Linked DNA regions of Homo sapiens: all the other regions are linked to region 4. Evidence: promoter capture Hi-C in 16 types of primary human blood cells and fetal thymus (Javierre and others, 2016). All regions are on one chromosome and are shown on one strand. The core of a region is centred on a gene start or on the middle of the fragment in contact, and the rest is flanking DNA. Distances in the headings are between cores, read along the strand shown. Region 1 holds the start of GSCAR (glioma stem cell association long noncoding RNA). Region 2 overlaps MEF2C (myocyte enhancer factor 2C). Region 3 overlaps MEF2C (myocyte enhancer factor 2C). Region 4 holds the start of LYSMD3 (LysM domain containing 3). Region 5 overlaps MEF2C-AS2 (MEF2C antisense RNA 2). Region 6 overlaps MEF2C (myocyte enhancer factor 2C). Region 7 overlaps MEF2C-AS1 (MEF2C antisense RNA 1).

What was found. The method cuts DNA at HindIII sites, captures the fragments that hold promoters and counts their contacts. A CHiCAGO score of 5 or more calls a contact.
Region 1: a fragment that was not itself captured here is called in contact with the fragment with the promoter of LYSMD3 in region 4 in 3 of 17 cell types (naive B cells, total B cells and fetal thymus); the score reaches 11.3 in naive B cells.
Region 2: a contact is called between a fragment that was not itself captured here and the fragment with the promoter of LYSMD3 in region 4, in 3 of 17 cell types (total B cells, fetal thymus and erythroblasts). The highest score is 7.0, in total B cells.
Region 3: a fragment that was not itself captured here is called in contact with the fragment with the promoter of LYSMD3 in region 4 in 3 of 17 cell types (fetal thymus, naive B cells and erythroblasts); the score reaches 15.2 in fetal thymus.
Region 5: a fragment that was not itself captured here is called in contact with the fragment with the promoter of LYSMD3 in region 4 in 6 of 17 cell types (total CD4 T cells, naive CD8 T cells, naive B cells and 3 more); the score reaches 11.6 in total CD4 T cells.
Region 6: a fragment that was not itself captured here is called in contact with the fragment with the promoter of LYSMD3 in region 4 in 8 of 17 cell types (non-activated CD4 T cells, fetal thymus, total CD4 T cells and 5 more); the score reaches 15.1 in non-activated CD4 T cells.
Region 7: a contact is called between a fragment that was not itself captured here and the fragment with the promoter of LYSMD3 in region 4, in 1 of 17 cell types (total B cells). The highest score is 6.4, in total B cells.

What each region holds. Positions count from the first base shown.
Region 1 is chr5:88,694,796-88,697,495 of GRCh38, forward strand. All of the region lies in intron 1 of MEF2C-AS2 (MEF2C antisense RNA 2), which reads left to right. GSCAR (glioma stem cell association long noncoding RNA) reads right to left here and starts at 2,349. Exons shown (of 3, transcript XR_007058863.1): 1 at 1-2,349. RefSeq lists an enhancer at 1,139-2,118. The HindIII fragment of the contact is 933 bases long and covers 876-1,808 here.
Region 2 is chr5:88,824,028-88,826,764 of GRCh38, forward strand. The region is part of intron 1 of MEF2C (myocyte enhancer factor 2C); the gene reads right to left. Among named protein-coding and RNA genes, the nearest start is that of MEF2C, 58 kb to the right of the region's middle. RefSeq lists a silencer at 865-1,159. The HindIII fragment of the contact is 1,015 bases long and covers 744-1,758 here.
Region 3 is chr5:88,878,187-88,880,886 of GRCh38, forward strand. The region is part of intron 1 of MEF2C (myocyte enhancer factor 2C); the gene reads right to left. Among named protein-coding and RNA genes, the nearest start is that of MEF2C, 3.6 kb to the right of the region's middle. The HindIII fragment of the contact is 1,158 bases long and covers 683-1,840 here.
Region 4 is chr5:90,528,322-90,531,021 of GRCh38, forward strand. It overlaps LYSMD3 (LysM domain containing 3), which reads right to left and starts at 1,263. Exons shown (of 3, transcript NM_198273.2): 1 at 1,127-1,263. RefSeq lists enhancers at 534-1,034, 1,660-1,919 and a silencer at 1,300-1,549. The HindIII fragment of the contact is 4,420 bases long and covers 1-2,360 here.
Region 5 is chr5:88,711,870-88,714,569 of GRCh38, forward strand. It overlaps MEF2C-AS2 (MEF2C antisense RNA 2), which reads left to right. Exons shown (of 4, transcript NR_146284.1): 3 at 922-996. Among named protein-coding and RNA genes, the nearest start is that of GSCAR, 16 kb to the left of the region's middle. The HindIII fragment of the contact is 3,530 bases long and covers 1-2,700 here.
Region 6 is chr5:88,737,779-88,740,478 of GRCh38, forward strand. All of the region lies in intron 6 of MEF2C (myocyte enhancer factor 2C), which reads right to left. Among named protein-coding and RNA genes, the nearest start is that of GSCAR, 42 kb to the left of the region's middle. The HindIII fragment of the contact is 2,662 bases long and covers 69-2,700 here.
Region 7 is chr5:88,897,978-88,900,878 of GRCh38, forward strand. All of the region lies in intron 1 of MEF2C-AS1 (MEF2C antisense RNA 1), which reads left to right. It also overlaps a transcript of MEF2C not described here. Among named protein-coding and RNA genes, the nearest start is that of MEF2C-AS1, 16 kb to the left of the region's middle. The HindIII fragment of the contact is 860 bases long and covers 1,141-2,000 here.

The sequences.
Region 1 (2,700 bases), core at 92-2,591, 1.8 Mb before region 4:
TACACAACTTTTCAATGAGGGAGGAGGATATCGAATACCTCACTCAGTCTTCGGGAATGGAGCCTTCAAAAACACTTTTGTGAGGCCGGGCGCGGTGGCTCACGCATGTAATCCCAGCACTTTGGAAGGCCAAGGCGGGCGGATCACGAGGTCAGGAGTTCAAGCCTTGCCAACATGGTGAAACCCCGTCTCTACTAAAAATACACAAATTAGCTGGGCATGGTGGCGCGCGCCTGTAATCTCAGCTACTCGGGAGGCTGAGGCAGGAGAATCGCTTGAACCGGGACCCGGGAAGCAAAGGTTGCAGTGAGCGGAGATCGCGCCACTGCACTCCAGCCTGAGCTACAGAGCGAGACTCCGTCTCAAAAAAAAAAAAAAAAAAGAAAGAAAAAGAAAAAAGAAAAAAAAAAAAGAAAGAAAGAAAAGAAAGAAAAAACCCTTGTGAGCCGCCTAAAAACCGTCCTGTGAGCATCTCATCCCCACACTGGCGCTGCCACCCGCACGGACCTTCCAACTTCGCACTGTTCCATTTTCTCTATGTGCTTTTCAGCCCATCCTTGGAGTTGCTCTGTAAGAAGGACTTTCGGAGTGAAACTCCACAGTGCGGTTCAAAGACACGCTTAGGATGCCCCGGGATGGAGAGAGGACTGAGCTTGGACTGGAATTCCTGGAACAGACGAGGGCTTGTGAGCTTGTCCCAGGCACTGAGGACAGCATACTCTTCCCGACAAGGGCATCTGGGTCGAGAGAAGGTGGAGCGGGTCTTCGGCAAAGGCGAAACCCTGGAGAACGCTGCCCCACCCCACCCTGTAAGCGTGGACGAGTAATAATCTCCCGGCCTCAGTTTCCACCCTCTGCTTATATCAATTTTAAGAAGCTTTATTTTTTCTAAGATGATTTTCCCTACATATTTCTTGTCTCCCTCACTGCCATTCCCGCCCCTCCCCCCCAAAATACATTGTAAATCTTTTTCCTCCTACGGTTAATTTTAAAGAACCACAAAAGTTTGCATAAGACAGAATTTACCTGCCCATATATTTCTGTTGAAGGTGGAAAATTGTTTTTACGTGGCAAGTTTTATTTCTATTGATTTCTAAAAATTTTATCTGGAAAGAATTTGGCTCATGAGCTAAATAATATAGTTACCATTTGCTTAATAATTTTTAAGCTCTAGGCATTGAGGTAAATGCTTTATATATTTTTTCTTAGTCTGAGAACAACCATGTAAAATAGGGTTTTTCCTTCTGTTTTTCTTCCTCCCTCTCTTCTTTCCAATTTGAAAACTGAGGCAGAGACATTAAATGGCTTTCACAAAGGTATAGAGCTAGTAAGTAGCAGAGGCAGAGTCTGAACACAACTACCAACCGCTAAGTGGAAGCTCTTAGCAGAGGTCAGCCGAGTTTTCAAGTGAGGCTATAACTGCTGAAGAGTAGCCCTTCAACCTATGGTACTTGGTTGCCCATTATAAAGGAAAGCTGTGTAGTAATTTGACTTTTTATACCTTAAGAAATAATCACGGCAAAAAAAAACCCTAAAAATAATCTTTAGCTGTTAAGCAATCATCATATTGCTAGTTGTAGTGCTGTTATTCATATTTTGCAACTGTTTATATATTATGAGATAAAGCAAGTAAGTCATTATATTGGTGTCTTACAGAACTGAAATTTTTCATTATAAGTAAAAAGGAGATACAGGTGGAAGATTATTGAAATCAAATAAAAATCTTATAGCCCTGGAAAGAAAAAAAAAGGAAAGCTATGGTTAAGAAGCAAGAGTAGAAGCTGTGAGTAGTTACTACCAGTACAGAAAGCTTGAAACAGACTTGTATTCCCACCCCAATCAATGCTTCTCACAGGAGCACATTGAATCCTCTGTTATGTTAATTCTGGCAATCTCTATGTCTTCTGGGTCCTACCATCAAACCTCTGAAAGCAATTCAAATATTTTGCCACTCCCTTTGACCATTTATTTTTTAAATCTGAGATTAGAATTGTGGAACACATAGTGGATTGATATAAAGAGGAAAATCAAGCACCAGGAATAAAGATTATAAAAGAGTTAGCTCCTTGAAGGTTGTTGGTAATAGACCAATCATGCCAACATAAAAAAATTAAATACTACTTTAATGAAATTTCATACTTTTAATAAATTACTTTCATCTTGTTAGTTCTGATCTAGAATATCTTTGTATTTAACATAAATGAGATAAAATTATAAAGAGATTCATCCTCTATTTTCCATTATAACATGCATAAAGTAAGATTTCAAAAATTTAAATAAATGTGTCAGAATATTCATGGAAAGTATTCAGCTGTGAGATTATGTACTTATTTGAATAAAGTGTCTTTTTACAATATATTTGGATTCTTCTATTTCTCCACTTCCTCCTTTTTTCCTCCTCTCTCATCCTCATTTTTCTCCTCCTCATCCATTTTCCCTTTCTCTTCCTCCCATTCATTTTGTCATTGGAATCTATTTCTGAGACACATGAGAAAATGAACCTCATTAGTTTATTTTTTCCTTAAAATGGTATTTTTGAAAAAAAAAAGCAGAAGATGTCACCTTCAACTGAGGATGATATGCCAATTTGAATAGCATATCCTCTGACTGTTGCAGACATTCAGAACTATGTGTGCCATCCCAAAGAAGGTCTTCAATGGCAGCTATTTTTTAAAATGTTGTTTTACAGTCACATTCGAT
Region 2 (2,737 bases), core at 1-2,500, 1.7 Mb before region 4:
GCTAAAGCAATAAAATGAATAAAAATAACTTTTTTGTTAAAAATATATGGTATATCACAGACAGGAGCAGATCAAGTAGTTTTATTTTTTAACAATTAAAATGATCTCATAAGTAATTTAACAAGTCATTTAAATGATGCAAACTATGCTTTTTTAAAGACTAACACTTGAAATGTATTTTTTTTTGTAAAAAGTTTCCTAATCTTTTTAATGAAATTAGGTGACAATTTCACCCGTTATGAAAAATTACCTAAATCAGAGAGTTAATGAACCTTTATGTACCTGTGTATGCTAAGTAGGGCAGCTAATTCATTTCTGAAGGGAAAACAATCTCCTGTTTTGACAGCAGAGGTGATAACGTCCCTCGTTATGCAAATAGGATGGACGATTATGAAAGTGCTATTTGATATATGTAAATGTCAACTAATTTAAATCTAAATCCTTTAATCTTACTTTAAAAAAATTATTGCTGTGAGAACACCTTAAAAATAATATGGAATATTTAATCTTAGATTACAAGCATCTATCAGCAGTGAGATCTTTTCTTTTTGAAAGCCCTTAAACTACATCTTAGATAACAAGAATCAAAAAAGATAAGCATTGACACAAAATAAATGGTGCAAAATTAAGATTATTCTTCAATTTATAACCATATTTTTTATAACAAGCCATCCTTCCTTTAAATTTAAATATTTAGAAACAGACATATCATGTCTTTGTGGAGTAAGATACAAAATTGCAGAAGCTTCACATTACATACTGGAGATCTCTGGGTCAGGAATTAAAATTAGAGAAATGATCATCAATAACATGAGATAAGCCCAAGAAACCCAGAATATTAAAAGTACATACTTTACTTGGTTTTAAATTACATCTGAAAATATTTGAACACAACGGAAGTTAATTGCTCTGAAATGTGAAAGTTAACAAGAAAGCATTCCACAATGGGTTTTTCAAGCAACAGCTCCAATTATTCTACTTCGTTTTAGGTCAATGAATGCAACAACTTTACACACTGCTCAGAATTTCCCTGTTTATTTTAGCTGGTGTCTGACAACGGACCTGATAAATTCCCACATGTATTATGTAATGCTAAGCCAATGTCCTGGCTATTTAATAGATTGTTTGGCTCCAATTCAAAGTTCTTGGAACAGGAAGGCTGTTACACATTCGGTCTGACCATTAGCTGTCTTCTGATTTCTTTAATTTAATTTCCAAATTCTTTATCACCTTGGGTATTTTTTTTTTTTTTAGTTTTTGGTGATTATTTAATTGCAGAAGCTATTATGATATAATTACTTCTGGTGGATTAAGTGCTGCTTAAATACTAAGACTATCCATTCTCTTTTGCCTCACGCCTCTCTACTAAACTGCAGCTCAGTTCTGCCTCTCATAATATGTATGTTGAGTAACATTATGACCACACAGTGCTCATCAAAAACTATTGCTCCAGCTGTAATTTTAAATGTTGGAGGTGGTTCAAAATTCTAAAGAGTTATAGAAATAACACACATTTGACAAATACATATAAAAATAGTTATAACATATTGAAATCACATTAAAATATGAAAAACCCACAAAGCATAATTGCATCATATATTTGATGTTGCTAGACACTGTCCATCTATTTTTAGAAAACGTCTTAAATGTCACTCAATGGGGCAACTTTCCTGTGTTTCCTATAGTCTTACCTTAGAAGCAAGCAGTGTGTTAGAATGGTATTTCCCATGCACGTTTAAGACCCCAAAGATACAAACAAGCTTTCTCTATCACAGAAAGCCAATCCATGAATCCACAGCAAATGCATATAGGACAATTTCCTTTCCTTTCATTTAGCTGAGGCCGGTGGCACTATCGGCTTACAGGACTATGCCTGCCTAAGCGCTTATTCACTTCAAGGTGGAAGGTCAGGGTGAGCAGATTAGAGTGTGGTGATAAGGCAGAAGAGACAAGAACATCTACAGATCCTGATTTCAAAATACAAATAACCAAACAAGCAGCAAAACATCCTTGGAGAAAAGTCTCAGAAAGACAGAGAGAGTTCCTGATGAACCAAACTTAGGAGAGTTCCTCCATATCATCACCCCATATTTCACAACTTTGAATGAGACCATTTTTAAAAAGAGCAGAGCAAGGACTTAAAAAAAAATTTCTTAAAACATGCTGGAAAAAAATTTTGCCAAAGAGAATGTGTGTATGTATCTATGTATATATAAGTGGTTGATAAAAATGCCATTGAATATATTTTCTTTTTTGAAATATGCAAAGCAATGTAGAGAGAAGCAAGTTTAAATTTCAATAGAACTAAACTTTTGTTTTCTGTATAAATATTTCTTGAGGTATTGCCTTCAGAACATTTCTAAAATCCAAAATTTAGTATGAAGTACACGTGCAGAGTAATATGTGGTGATGATGACACTAAGTAACTGGTCATGAAGTAAAGTCTATCATGAAACGTGGTTTAGAACATTTGATTATGGGTCACCACATTTCAAGGCTGTCACTAAAAATTTAAAGAATTAGGAAGGTCAACAATAGCTCACGCATTGTTTTCTTAGCACAACATTTTCTCTAACCTAATTTTTATGCAAAAACTATATTAAAAGGTCAGTTTCAAGTATCAATTTGTAGGAGGCCTAGAGAGGCGAAGAAAGAGATTATTTAACTTTAGTAATCTGTAAAACTGTTTTGTGTGTATATGAAAAAGGAATATAACAGCTAGCCTACATGTAGTAAA
Region 3 (2,700 bases), core at 12-2,511, 1.7 Mb before region 4:
GTTCAATCTAGTGTCTACACTTGGATGCTATAGAATGTTTGTGTTAGTAGAAGAAACTCATGAATGTTTTTGTGTACAGGTATGTTGTATGACACCTCAGGAAGAGGCCCATGAATGTTACAAGTTTTTGATGGCCTCCTTTCAATTTAAGACCCATTACAGGAATGACCCCTTTCTTTCATAAGTATATTGGATAAAAAACATTTAGAAACTTAGGAAGTAGAATCAGAGAGCTGTTTGAAATCACAAACATGCAAAAATATCACAGGTCTACGCTTACCATCCTAATGGCAGAAAACTCACACCAAAGTTGGCACCCACTAACTTCTACCTCATTAAGGCAAGCTGCTGGTCATTGGATATTGTGTTCTAACACGACTTCCCTTTATGTAGAATAATATGTTTCCTTCCAAGGAAAGTTTTTCTTTTGTTGTTATTTTCTAATAAATATACTCCATATTTATAGAAAATTTTGCATTTATCTTTGATTTTATCTTTTCTAAATAGTCTTTCTTTATTCCACTTTTACAAAGAAATTTTCAAGTGTAAAGACACAGCAGGAAAAAAAATTATATCTCTTTTAAGATATTTTAGTGTGTAAATGAAATGGATAGTCCTTGTGCAATTTATCAGGCATTTCAGAATGAACCCAACTGTATAATTCCCAGGCCTACAAAATGAAAGCTTTGTTATTTACCTATGTTTCTCACTTGAAATAAGAGTGAATATAAAGAGTGAATATATAACTGCAACTGAAGGTAATAAACTTGTTAAAACTTAGTAAGATATTGTGATGGTCAAAGAAAACCTGCAAGTGCGTGCCACAAATCCACTCAGATGAAACATCTCATTCACTAAAATTTTCTATCTTATTATAATAGTGCACAGAAAATTAAACACATAAATATTAATTTTATGTATCACAGATGATGTAGGCAATGAAAATGCAATGTTTACATTTATGGGTGACTCATTAGTGTTTTATTGTGTGAAACACTAGGAGGCATCAGTTGGGTAAAAAAGGACTTCAATTTTAGAAGAAGCAAAAAATTACTGTAAAGTTGGGTGTGTAAGAAGTTAAGATTTTCAAAATGTTATTATGTAAACCAAAACTTTATTCTCTGAAATAAACTCTCAAAACATCATATTCTGTTGTAAAGAATGATCTTTATATAACATTCATGAAATATATATATTATATATATATATAAAATTTGACCAATGAACTTTTATGAAGATATGTTTCACATATATGGATTCATAACTATGTAATTACACATTTTTATGTAGAATATATTTGGTAACAGAATAACATAATGGATATTGACTATTATGCATTTTCTGCTGAATTACTCAATAACATGAGTGTATGTTTTATTTCTGGCAAATTCTGTTTTGTGCTCTTTATAACGCCTCTGAAAATGTCTAATGCATTTAAGCCTTACAATACCTGCTTCATGTAAGCAGACAATTTAATGTTTGTTCATAAAGAAATGATGGAACTTAAAATTTACACAATGAAGACATACATAAAAAAGGACATGTTTTCTCTTACTTCACTACTGAAAGCCTGTCATTTGAAAACTGAATTTTCCATTGTTTGAATGGATCATAATGATGAAGCAACAGGGTCAAAGTATGCTTATCTAAGCAATCATTTGAAATTGAGTGTCTTGCCATTCCTCAACAATCAGCTTTTATCTTTGACCTATCAAAATAACATGTGAACTATGTAATCTGCCTTTTGTAACGTGCATAGACTCTGTTGTTCCTGGTTTTGTGAATCACCTCTGTAATCTGGTTTGATTTCCTAAAGGTGACAGATCTCGGTGAACAGTCAAGCTTTACTGAGTGCAAGACAGTCCACGCGCCTATAAGATTAAGGTACAGTGCTAAGGACGGGGATCTTAATTACCTGTCTTTCCACATGCAGCATACTGATGGAACAACAGTGATTAAATCATTTCATCGTGTCTAGGCAATCACCACATTAGTATAGAATGAATACGTGTATTTTGATAAGTTTTAGATATTAATTTGTGTGGTATTTTCTCAGAGGATGTGCTTTTGAAAAAAAAGTGTAACTTTATTAATAATCTCTTAACAGTTCATCTTGTGACCATTAATTGCATATTAAATTCTTCTATGTTGCTTCGAATCATGTCCCCAAAGCCAGAATTCTGTTTAATAACTATGTCTTTGTTGTTATGTAGCACAAGTATTGCTGCACAGCTATTTCCCCATTTTTGTCACTTTCTGAGATTTCATAGACTCAAATTATACCACACTTTAGAGTTGAGAAATAAAACCACAAAATATACTACAATAAACAGAAGAAAGTTTTAAAAGATAATGTTAAGATATGCTAAGGAGTTATTCAGTGCTGTTCTTTATAAAAGAAGTTTAAATAAAGTATTTATTAGAAAGATACGTTTGCAGTGTTATGGAATTTATTGATTCCGTTAAGTTAGGGCCAAGGAAAAAATTTCAGGTATCTTTTCCCCCAAATTTTTCAAAATGAACATGTTTACAAAGAAGAAAAGAGGCAAAGTGCCTCTTGTTATCTAAGTTTCATGGAGTTATCTAGTATTAATGTGCTTCTCTCTTGAAAAGTTAATATCTGTGATTGCACACTTTTAAAATATGAATAGCTCAGAAAAGGTGGAAAACTGTTTTTATTATAAATTGCTCATTTGTTAT
Region 4 (2,700 bases), core at 13-2,512:
TGTCTTGTTAGACAGTTTCACCCTAATAATTTGTACTTAGAACTTCAAAATTGGCTTAGTAGTGCAGCTAACTGAAAATCACTAAGCAATGCCCCAAAGCCATTTTAGATACTTGTTTCTATCAACCTCTCTCCACGATATATTTCTAAATATAATTTAAAGGTCAGAACTTCACCTGTCTCACTATCTCTCCACTCCCCTTTATAATGAAATGCAGGCAGCTGACTATCGTGTTACAAATCTGGGTATTCTGAATGATCAAGAACTGGCTGTGTCTTCAACCGAAGTGAACAGACTGACCCAGGCGATCACTCCAGTCTACTACTCAGAGATTAGAAAATACATAATATTTAAGTCATCTGGCTCAATTCTATTCACCTCTCTTAATTCTCTTAGAGCAGGAAAAAGGCACGAACTCCCTTTCAGAAACTTGGAACAAGCCTGCGTGCTACCTAGATTACGAGGGGCCACAAAACAGTGTTAAAGCATTCTTCAGCTCAGTCTGTAACTGAAAACGGTTTCCCAAACACCTTCGTACTGTAGAATGGCTGCTGGGTGTTTCGCCTTGACCTTCTTTAACTAAGCAAGGTGCAATAAGAGGGTCACAGGGCACAAGTTAAAGCTGCAAAGGGACAGAATCAAAGGCACCCTATCCGCTGCCAGGGACAATTTTGTTTTTTAAAACTTAACTACCTCCTCCCTCTGTATTCCACACGTCAAGTTTTTCTTTCCCTGCTATCGTCAGCGAAGATTACGTCTCAGAGTCTTCTGTCACAGCATGACACTTGAACGATGTGACAAGATGCCGTCAGCGAATATTTCACGCCAACATAAAGTCGTGGGAGAAATGCTGTGTTTGGGTGGGAAATTAGCTGCCCAGGTAATCCAGCAGGTAGGCGTCCTTCCTCTGAGCCTCAGTTTCCCCGACAGTGTGACAAGAGGGCCTGGCAGGGCTGGTCTGGAAGTTCTTCCCTGTCTCGGGGGTGTCCGCCACACGGGCCGAGCCCGGCCCTGCAGCCCCCACCACACCTGTGGCCGAGGCTCAGCGCCTCCCGTGAGGACGCAGCTGGGGCTCAACCCCGCCCTCCTGGACCGGGCTACCCTCACCTCCTGCCACCATCTTTACCTGTCCCCGTTAGCAGGGAGCACTCTGCGAGAAGATGGCCAAAAGGTCCGCCGCCGCCGCTGTCCCGGGTAAGTTCATGGCCGAGCCTCTGCTTTGGGCTGACCCCGTCCGCCTCCGCCTCTGCCGCCAACGTCTCCGCCTTCCGGGCCGTACGCCGCCGCCACGTCCGCAAACCTGAGATGCGTCATCGCGTCAAGTGGGCGGAGGTGGGAAGGGGCGGGGGAGGACGCGGAGGGCAGCCCAAAACGGGGGAGTCCAACCACAGGTCCACGCCCGGCACGCAGGCGCAGGGACTCCTCCGGGGCCCGGGGGCGGGTCCAATCCCCGGGCCCGGGGGCGGGTCCAATCCCCAGCCCCGCCCTTGACTCCGCTCCTTCCGTGCCGCTTCACTCCCCGAGGAAAAGATTTGGTGGCCAAGTCAGCGGATCCAACCCGCGACCACCAGCGACCTACTGGCTGCGTCTTTGTCCAGCGTCCACACTGCGCTGGCAGAGACTGTCGGGTGCACCCTGAGGACGAGGCGTGGCTCAGGATGTGTCGGGGAGCTGTCTTGCATTTTTTTCTTGCTGTGCATCTCGAATTTTCTTTAGGGTGGGAAAGGACACCTCAAAAACACTGTTGACATCACGGTTTCAGAAAATTGCGCCATGTTTGTTACCCTTTTCATGCTGAAGACTCCAGACTGCTGCAGAAGAGGCAGAATTCTGGAGAGAAATCCTTGGGGGACCGAGGACGAGGGTTGGAGGGGGTTGTCTCACCCTTCCTGTTTTTAGGTGAGGGAAGTGAGCCACCTAGAGTCAGGCCCCAGGAAATGTTTTCCCTGGCTCGAGGAGTCAAGGGAGTCAACAAATTGTAATCTAACTTATTTTGGTTTGAAAATTAACTGAGTCATTGGTAGTCACCATTGGACTCTATGGAATATTAGCTTATTAAATAAACTCATGACTTCATACATGATTTTTATCACAAATGTGTTAAATGAGTATCATAATGTGTTTGAATTTATGTATGACTTTGGCAAAAGCCGCAACTACTTTTGCACCAACCTAATTAATGAATGTAAAGCATTTTAATGAGTCTGATGTCTCTCAGTGTTGATATTAGAGACGTTGCACTTTGACAACCATGCTAACTGTTACGACAATATCCATTTTAGGCACAAATAGCTGGGGTGCAGGGTGCAGAGCAGTGCTTTTCAGAATGTCTGAATATTTATACATTAGAAAGCCTTTGAAGCTTGGTTTTAAATTGTTTTTCAAAGAGTATGTTTTTGGTTTTCTGGTAAGTGCCTCTGCAAAGGTTAGGAGTTTTGCATTGCAATAGTTTTCTTTTATTAGCAGGGATAGGCACTGTGCTTCCCAGCGCCACAAAAAAAAACTGCAGGAGAAGACTTTTTTAAAAAGTTTGTCTGAATTGTTCTGTGTGTTGTTGCCCTCATGACACCCCTGTCTGTAACCATTTATCACTGAGACGTTCTCTCATCAGCAGACAAAGGATATATTCCCTGCTTGATATGTAGGACTTCGGCTGCTTAGCCCTCATGAATGTTAATGGGAATACAACCTTCTTTCTGT
Region 5 (2,700 bases), core at 67-2,566, 1.8 Mb before region 4:
AATGGAAGCATAATGATTATCTGTATTGAAGCAGGCCCTCATATACTTCAACAGGAGATACCTTAGAGTAGTAACTCCTACTACTATTTCTTTTTCTTTTTCTTTTCTTTTCTTTTCTTTTTTTTTTTTTTTTTTTTTTTTTTTGAGACAGAGTCTCGCTCTATTGGCAGGCTGGAGTGCAGTGGCTTGATCTTGGCTCACTGCAGCCTCCACCTCCCGGATTCAAGCAATTCTCCTGCCTCAGGCTCCCGAGTAGCTGGGACTACAGGTGCGTGCCACCATGCCCAGCTAATTTTTGTATTTTTAGTAGAGATGGGGTTTCACCATGTTCGCCAGGATGGTCTCGATCTCTTGACCTCGTGATCCGCCCACCTCGACCTCCCAAAGTGCTGGGATTACATGCGTGAGCCACCGTGCTTGGCCTCCCTACTACTATTTCTTACATAATATTCTGAATTTGAGATTTATCTTCATATAAGTATTTTAAAATTCTGGTAAAATTTACACAGAGTGAAATACACAGATCTTAAATGTACACTAGGTCAATTTTAACAAATGATCCCAGTCAAGATATATAACTTTTCTGTCACTGAAGTAAGTCCCTTGGTGCCCCCTTCTAGTCAGTTCCCACCGCCACCAACAGGCAACTACTGTTCTCATTTCTATCAGCATAGATTAGTTTTGTCTGTTCTTGAACTGTATATAAATGCAATTATACAGTTTGTTCTCTTTTGTGCCCAGATTCTTTCATGCAGCATAATCCTCACATAAATTTTAATGAGTGAATTTTAATAATTGTTATCACAATTAGCACTGAAATTAGTTACATTCTGGTTTATCTAATAACTAGTCATACATAATTTTTAAAATACAGAAGTTCAATGTATCATGTCTCCTGTTTCTTGATTTTATATTTCATAGGAACTCTCTCTTCTATTCTCAGAGTCTACAAAATGCATTATTAAAAAGGCAGGAAGAAAACTGGGCTTTATCAAGGTAGGTGAGGAAGGGCTGTTGTGTATGTCTTTGTATTGTCAGTATATTTAAAGTGGACTCTGGAGAGGACACATTGGTTAGAAGACAAAAATCATTTTTCTGAGTTATTTCGTAGTTATTAAACTCAAAGGACAAATATCATTACTGGTTGGGGGATTCAGGAGAGAGATAGAAGAAACTATTATTCTGTCTCTCTCTCTCTTATAGCTACAGGGTCTTGCTGTGTCCCCCAGGCTGGAGTGCAATAGTGCAATCATAGCTCACTATAACCTTTAACTCCTGGGCTCCAGTGACCCTTTTGCCTCAGCCTCCAGAATAGCTATGACTATAGGTGTGCACCACCATGACAGGCTAATTTTTAAATTTTTTTGTAGGACAGGCATCTCACTATGTTGTTCAGGCTGGTCTTAAACTCCTGGGCTCAAGTGATCTGCTCACCTCAGCCTCCCAAACCATTGGGATTACAGGGTGTAAGCTATCACTTCTGGCCAGAAAGTATTATTCTTTATTTTTGAAAAAAAATTATTTCAATTGATAAATAACAATTGTACATGTTCATGAGGGAAAGCATTATTCTTTTATTGCCAGTAGAACTCTAAAGTAAAGAAAATGTTTTTTGATTTGCTCAAATAATCTTTTTCACATGCAAAGCACATAAACCAGGATAGTAAATGGGAAGAATGAAAAGATGGAAAATAGTGAAAAATATTATTTTCAGCCTCCCAAATCTTACTTGGAAATTTAGCTGATGAATTTGAAAGTACCAAAAAGTAACATAGTCTCCATGCAATTTCAGCTGATTGTTATGGACACAGGAGTTGGTAAGAATGACATGCTTTCTGTGTTCTAATACTATAGCTGGGTTGGTCATAGGGGAGCAGGTTACAATGGCAATGAGCAAGGAAGCAACGGAAATTCAGCCAAGATCTCTAGATTTATAGTCTTAATATTAGATGGCTGATAGGATAAACTGATTATTAACTAGGCAGAGTAAATTAAACCTTATAGGATGAATTCTAAATTAATATTTGTGATTTAATTATAGAAAACTGCTTGCTTAAGTAAGGCTCTTTGGCCAGTTAGTGTAGTCAATAGAGAAGCAAACTGCTAACCTTAAGGTTGTGGTCGTGTCATCCAGAACTGACAGCTGAGGCCATCTGTGCCTGGAGAATCCTAGAGGCGAGCCTATCAGTCCTGAGGTTTGCTCTACACACTGGCATTTTCTTTCCAAAGGCTGCTTCATTAGAGGAGAGTTCCCTGTAAATCTATTCAGTGTGTGGCATTTGCTTTTGGGGGGAAGCCTTTTTTTCAAACTAAAATCTTAAAAAAAATAAGTGGCATATCATATAGCTCAAAAATAAAAACAATATTTAAAAATATGTGTTGTTAAATCTTTCCTCTCATTCACCTCTTTCCCCAACCCCTTGCCATGTTAGTAACTACTTTCTTCATTTCTTTTTTTTTTTAAGTTTTTTATTTTTAATTTTTTTTAGATGGAGTCTCGCTCTGTCACCCAGGCTGGAGTGCGGTGGCATAATCTCGGCTCACTGCAACTTCTGCCTCCTGGGTTCAAGCAATTCTCCTGCCTCAGCCTCCCGAGTAGCTCAGATTACAGGCATGCCACCACACCAGCCAATTTTGTTTTTTTTTTATTTTTAGTGGAGACGGGGTTTCCCCATGTTGGCCAGGCTGGTCTCAAACTCC
Region 6 (2,700 bases), core at 150-2,649, 1.8 Mb before region 4:
GAAAAAGAAGGCTTGGCTAACATGAACCTCTAAGATTATGTTAACTTTACACTGTAGGCTTTATACTAAGCTTTTACCAAATTTTATACTCTAGAAAATGAGTGCCTAAGATAGCTTCTTAGTTGTTAGCTTTATTAAATTTGTGTTAGGAAAGGAACAATGATGGCAGTGGAAAGGAGAGACAAAAGGGGGTTGGACTGCTGTTAGAGAAGCTAGTTAGAACGCCTTGCTCTAGAATACATGAGAAATGATGTCTGAATGAGGCAGCGCAGAGAGAAAGGTTTACAGGCATCCAGGAGTTGGGGACAAAAAAAAGATAAGGCAGAGTAATCTAGGTTCTACTCAAAATGTTTCTGTTAAGAGTTCTCTCAACCCTACAGAGCCTTAGTTTTCTCAATAGAAGTATTTCCCTAGTGTGAGAGAAGCATGAAAGTAATCTGAATGAGAGGCTCTCAGGTACTCATCTGAGGCAGTCATTGACAATCTTACCATCCAACAATATTAGCAATCGCTAACACAGTGTATAGTATTATTTACCAACAACACAACATTAAGCATACACATTAACTGCTCAGAAGAGTACCAGGCACTTGTAACTGCTATGTAAGTGCTAGATATTGTACATGGATATAAAGCACTTTTAATCTTCACAAGAACAACCCTGTGGGATACTAATAGTATCCCTATGAAAAATGAGAAATGAGAAAACCGAAGAAAAGAGAGGTCCAGGAATTTGCTCAATGTCAAACAGCTATCAACTGGTGAAGCTATGATTTGAACCCAAGCAGTATGTCCAGAGTCCATGCCCTGAAGTACAACACTACACTGCTCCTTCAGAACCAGTCATGCTCTGAGATAGTGAAAGCCTTTCTATGTCGAGTCTCATTTGCAAATTATGGGGATACAAATGAAGAGAGGACACAACTAGGGACAGGACAGTCAAGGTTGTCCTAAGCCAGAGGTGATGTGCAAGTTTGAGGGACATGTTGTAAGGTCAACTTGGGCATAGTAAATAGTAGTTCTGGTTCAGAAGACACTGAATTCTCATAAAGAGGCACAGAATGGTGATGTTCAAACCATATTTCTGGTCTCTTTCTGGATAAATAAATATTTACAAGTAGGAAATACTGAGTTTAGCTACACTGAACACCAGAGTAGCTGTTTAACTTTTAGTGTGCTATTTTGAGTGGATGATTAAATATGCTTTTAAAAGTAGATTTTGTAATATTTTAGTCAATAATCTTCTCCCCTGTAATATACTTAAATGGTAATGATGCTTACTTACTTACTGTCAATTTAAGAGACCAGCTTCTATCAGAAACACCCAATGTTACAGTGAAATGTCCAGTATTTTTTAGTATCTGCGATTAGTTGTTACCCGGGAAATAACTTCTAATATATAAATGTATAAAAATAATTTTGTTTAGTAATTTGTTAATAGTATCTGATTTTGAGGGATTTGAAGCAAATTGACACAGGAAAACATTAAGCTGAACACACAGCTGGACCTCTGAAGTATCAATTTGCTGCTTTTACTTCAACAAAATGTTTTACTCACTTTAAAAAAAAAATAAAGCAATTTTGAAAACAGTTACAGCATACTGGGTTGTTAGACAGGAAATGTCACATACATAATAATGCTCACTATCATCAATTAATTTTATATTTTAGTTTTTAAAGTTTTAAGATTAAAAGTTAGTTTCCAATATCAGGATATTGTTTTGTGCCTCAAATGAACATACATCTTTTTATAGAAAATTACTTTAAATTGTGTATCATAAACTTGCTCATACAATCCCCTACTCTACTGGAAGTGACAGTTGAAAAAAAAATTAGTGGAAAAATATGATCTTCTAGACTGCAGTCCTAGCCTGAATGCCTGAAACCTTGTTACATATGCTAGGAACTGTGAGTTATTCAGCTGTTGTGTATCAAAATCAGTTTTGTTTTTATTTTTATTTTTTTGAGAAAAAAAGATATTTTACATTGAATAGCTCTAAGAGAAAAGGCAACCACAAAACATTCAGGGGTCAGAAATCTGGGTATGATGAAAATTTCAATATGCTTAATGTAGAAAGGGGGCAAATCAGATTTCTGATTCTTATCTTGCTAAAGACTCCTAATTAGGGATTCTTACACACAAAATAAAGGCTCCACTTTTTCTGGGGGTTTCTTAGGGAAATTATATAATAATGCATAATGTTAAACTATGAAGAAACTTCTCTGAAACCTCAGTGCATTTTGTGGTATATTCTTAGAGAAATACCCCAAGACTATACCAAAGCCAAGAACTATTCTTGGCCATACCAGTTCAGGGGCATCAGACGTTCTAAAAAGAGAGCTGTCTCTTCTCTTTGACCATGTCACCTGATGCTGGACCAGAGCTTCAGGAATTTCATATCTAGCCTATTTGTCCTTGACGTTTCTTGGGCTGTGTTTTGTTCAGCGATTTTGCGTGTGTGTGTGTGTGTGTGTGTGTGTGTGTGTGTGTGAAATTAACAGTCTGTCAATGAGACAATGAGCTTTTAACGTACAGCACATACTGTGTAAGCTCTGGATTGTGAGGGAGAGGTAAAGAAATTTTACTTATTACTAAGTTGTTTTTCCAAAGATTGAGAGTCCATCAAGTAGGTTTGTGTTGGCGAACATTTTCTCATTTGTCCTAACTGTCATGCGGATTTAGGCATCACCATCCCAGCT
Region 7 (2,901 bases), core at 321-2,820, 1.6 Mb before region 4:
GCATTATAACAGGCTCCTCAGGTGGTTCTTCCATAGCACTTATTTGCATGCTACTCTCTTAAGGTGAGGGGAAGCATAAGATCCACAGGTCCCTCTAATGCCATAATTTTTTTTTCTCTCCGTTTGTTATTCACTCCTGTTCTCTCCACTAATGTTCACAAATTTTGTGGAACTTTTAAAGTCATGAGAACCTTTCAAGATAGTAAGATGAATCTTGATTCAAAATTGTAAACAAGAAAAAAAGACATGCCACAAATATTCTGCCTGTTGAAATTAGAAAACCAGTTAAGCAATATGGAAACCTAATTATCTCAAATTTCTGTACAATTCTTCATCTTTACTTAATTGAGGGATAGCCATTATCTTTTCTTGGATGGAATCGGTTCATTGGGTCCTGATACCTCTGCAAAACCTGTAAAATGGGCTTCAGATCCAGGGACCTCTACCATTGGTGATAAGTGACTCCCAAACATTTTCATCCTTCAGTGACTGCCACCTGCTGTGAGCCTAGACTCCAGGAAAATAGGACTGGCACTGGTCATAGTCACTTGAGGAATGTGGCTTCTCTGTAAAGAGATTTTCAATCAATGCAGATGTTCCTTGTGACCTCAGTAATCACCTCCATCTGCCAAGCAGTCATAAAGGGCCTGCACATCTTTGCCAACCTTGTCAACAGAGTGATCCATATCTTAGGTCTTTAACCTCTTTTGTATTAAGATTTTTTAAAAAATACATTAATCATGTTTTAATTCTGTCCTCATGAACATAAAAATAGCAATAATAAATGATTATTACTATTGCAAAAGTATTGCTTTAGTTTACAAGTTTTCCTTAAAAATATTGAACTCCCCAGCTGTATTTATCCATTCTTTCATTCCATTTATTCATCATACATAACCTAAATACCTATATGTAGCAGACATATTGTACTAGGATTCAGATATTTTTAACACTGTTTCTTGTTCCAACATTTTCCTGACATAAATAAATATATTATCATGCTGGCTTACAGCATTGTGTGTGGAGAATATCTTTCTAAGTTTAAAAATTTTCCTGTCATTCTATAAAATTAAAAATATTAAATGACCATTCAGTACTTTTTTGTCAATTCAGCCTTATAGTGCATACTGAAAAGTTCAAAGCTTCGTGTCATAACATAATTTTGAGAATGAGACTTTTTGTATTATGTTACTAGGGTCCCCAAGTGGAAAAAATAAGGCCTGCTGCTCTGGAGTATATTGCAAAGTGATTTTGTTTTCCCCACTGACTTCACAGGCTAGATAGTGTGTCAGTTTTAATTACTTGGAATGCTTACATGGTGGGCTACTTATAGCAATAGGGATAGGGTGGGGCCCAGTCATTGCAGACAGGAACCCACCAATAATATTCCAGATTCCTTTTGAGACTTCCTCACATGAAACAGAGGAAATATCTTTCATTGGATAACTAAAACTTACTTTCCTATGATTTGTACAAAATGGCCAAAAAGGCCCATCCATTCATTAGCCTCACAGAGGTTAAGTGACTTGTTTCCAGTCACAAAATGACTTTGCAGTGAAACAGAGAGTCTAACTCAAATCTTCCTACTTCTGCTCTGGTGCTCTTTGAAGAACACTCTTTAACTCTAATGAGGAAGCCTCTATGATCCTTCAAAAGCAGATACCGGACAAGTCACTTATTTTCACTAAAACCCCTTTGGGATGCAGGGCAATGATTAAACTTGCCTATCTTTCAAATTGCTAGAAATGGATGCTATTTACTATTTTGCTTGCAATTGATTTGCATACTGTTATTACATATTGTTAAATGGTTTGTTGATTAATGACTAATGTTGATTTGGACTAAATGTAATGGAATAAGCAAATATATTTTCAAATTTAGATATACAATTTAGTTGCTAAATGGTGTTGTTAGTCATAAAAATGTTGATTATTTTAGATCAATCCCTTGCAGGGGAACCCTAGCCACAATTTCCCTCCATATTTTTTCTCAATATTTTAAGCTTTACCCCATCTCTTTTTCTTATTAATTTACATGTCTGGGTTTTAAAGCTAATACTTCTTATAAGCAAGTACTGTTCCAAAGCCCAGGACTAAAATAAATTCTTATAAATTCAGAATGTGGTAGATTTCAACTAAACAGTTTCTTTTCTGGAGATCCAGAAGACAAATATTTGGCTTGAATATTAATATTTTCATGACCTTGACCAGATCAATATATTGCACAAATATTATCAACAAATTATATAAATAGACCATATTTACTAATATAATTAATAATTTTGGAATTAATATAAGATAGTTATATATACACACACATAAGCTAGTCAGTTGTTAAGTCAGTTATATGAACTATATAATGTATTATGCACTTGATATATACATATACTTATGTGTTAGTATATTTTGTATTTTTAATTACTCCCAATCTTAAAAAAAACCCTATATTCCAACTTATATTTTTGATTTCTACATTTATCTTCTAAATATATGTATTACCTTTGATAATTTTTTTATTTCTGCTATTTCATATACATTCATAAATATTTCCAGTTTGGAAATCCATTTAAATGGTAAGACAAATAAAAAACTTTTGTACCATAGATGTTTTAGTACATTTATAGTCTTTGTATTTTTTAGAACTACATTTTAATATGCTGTGATAAAAATGTGTATTTCTCTAACAAGGTATTAAATTTGGTGACTGAAAAGGGTTCTTCAAAGGAATATAATTCACATTAATTTTCCATGTGATCATTGTTACTTATAGTTTACTAGTCAACATGCTTAAAGTCTAATTAGAAAAAAAATCCCTGGATATTAAGTTGGGAAACAGACCCAAGTCTGTATCTACATAAAGGTCACCACCTTGGTGACCTTTGGTAAATTTCATTTTTGTTCT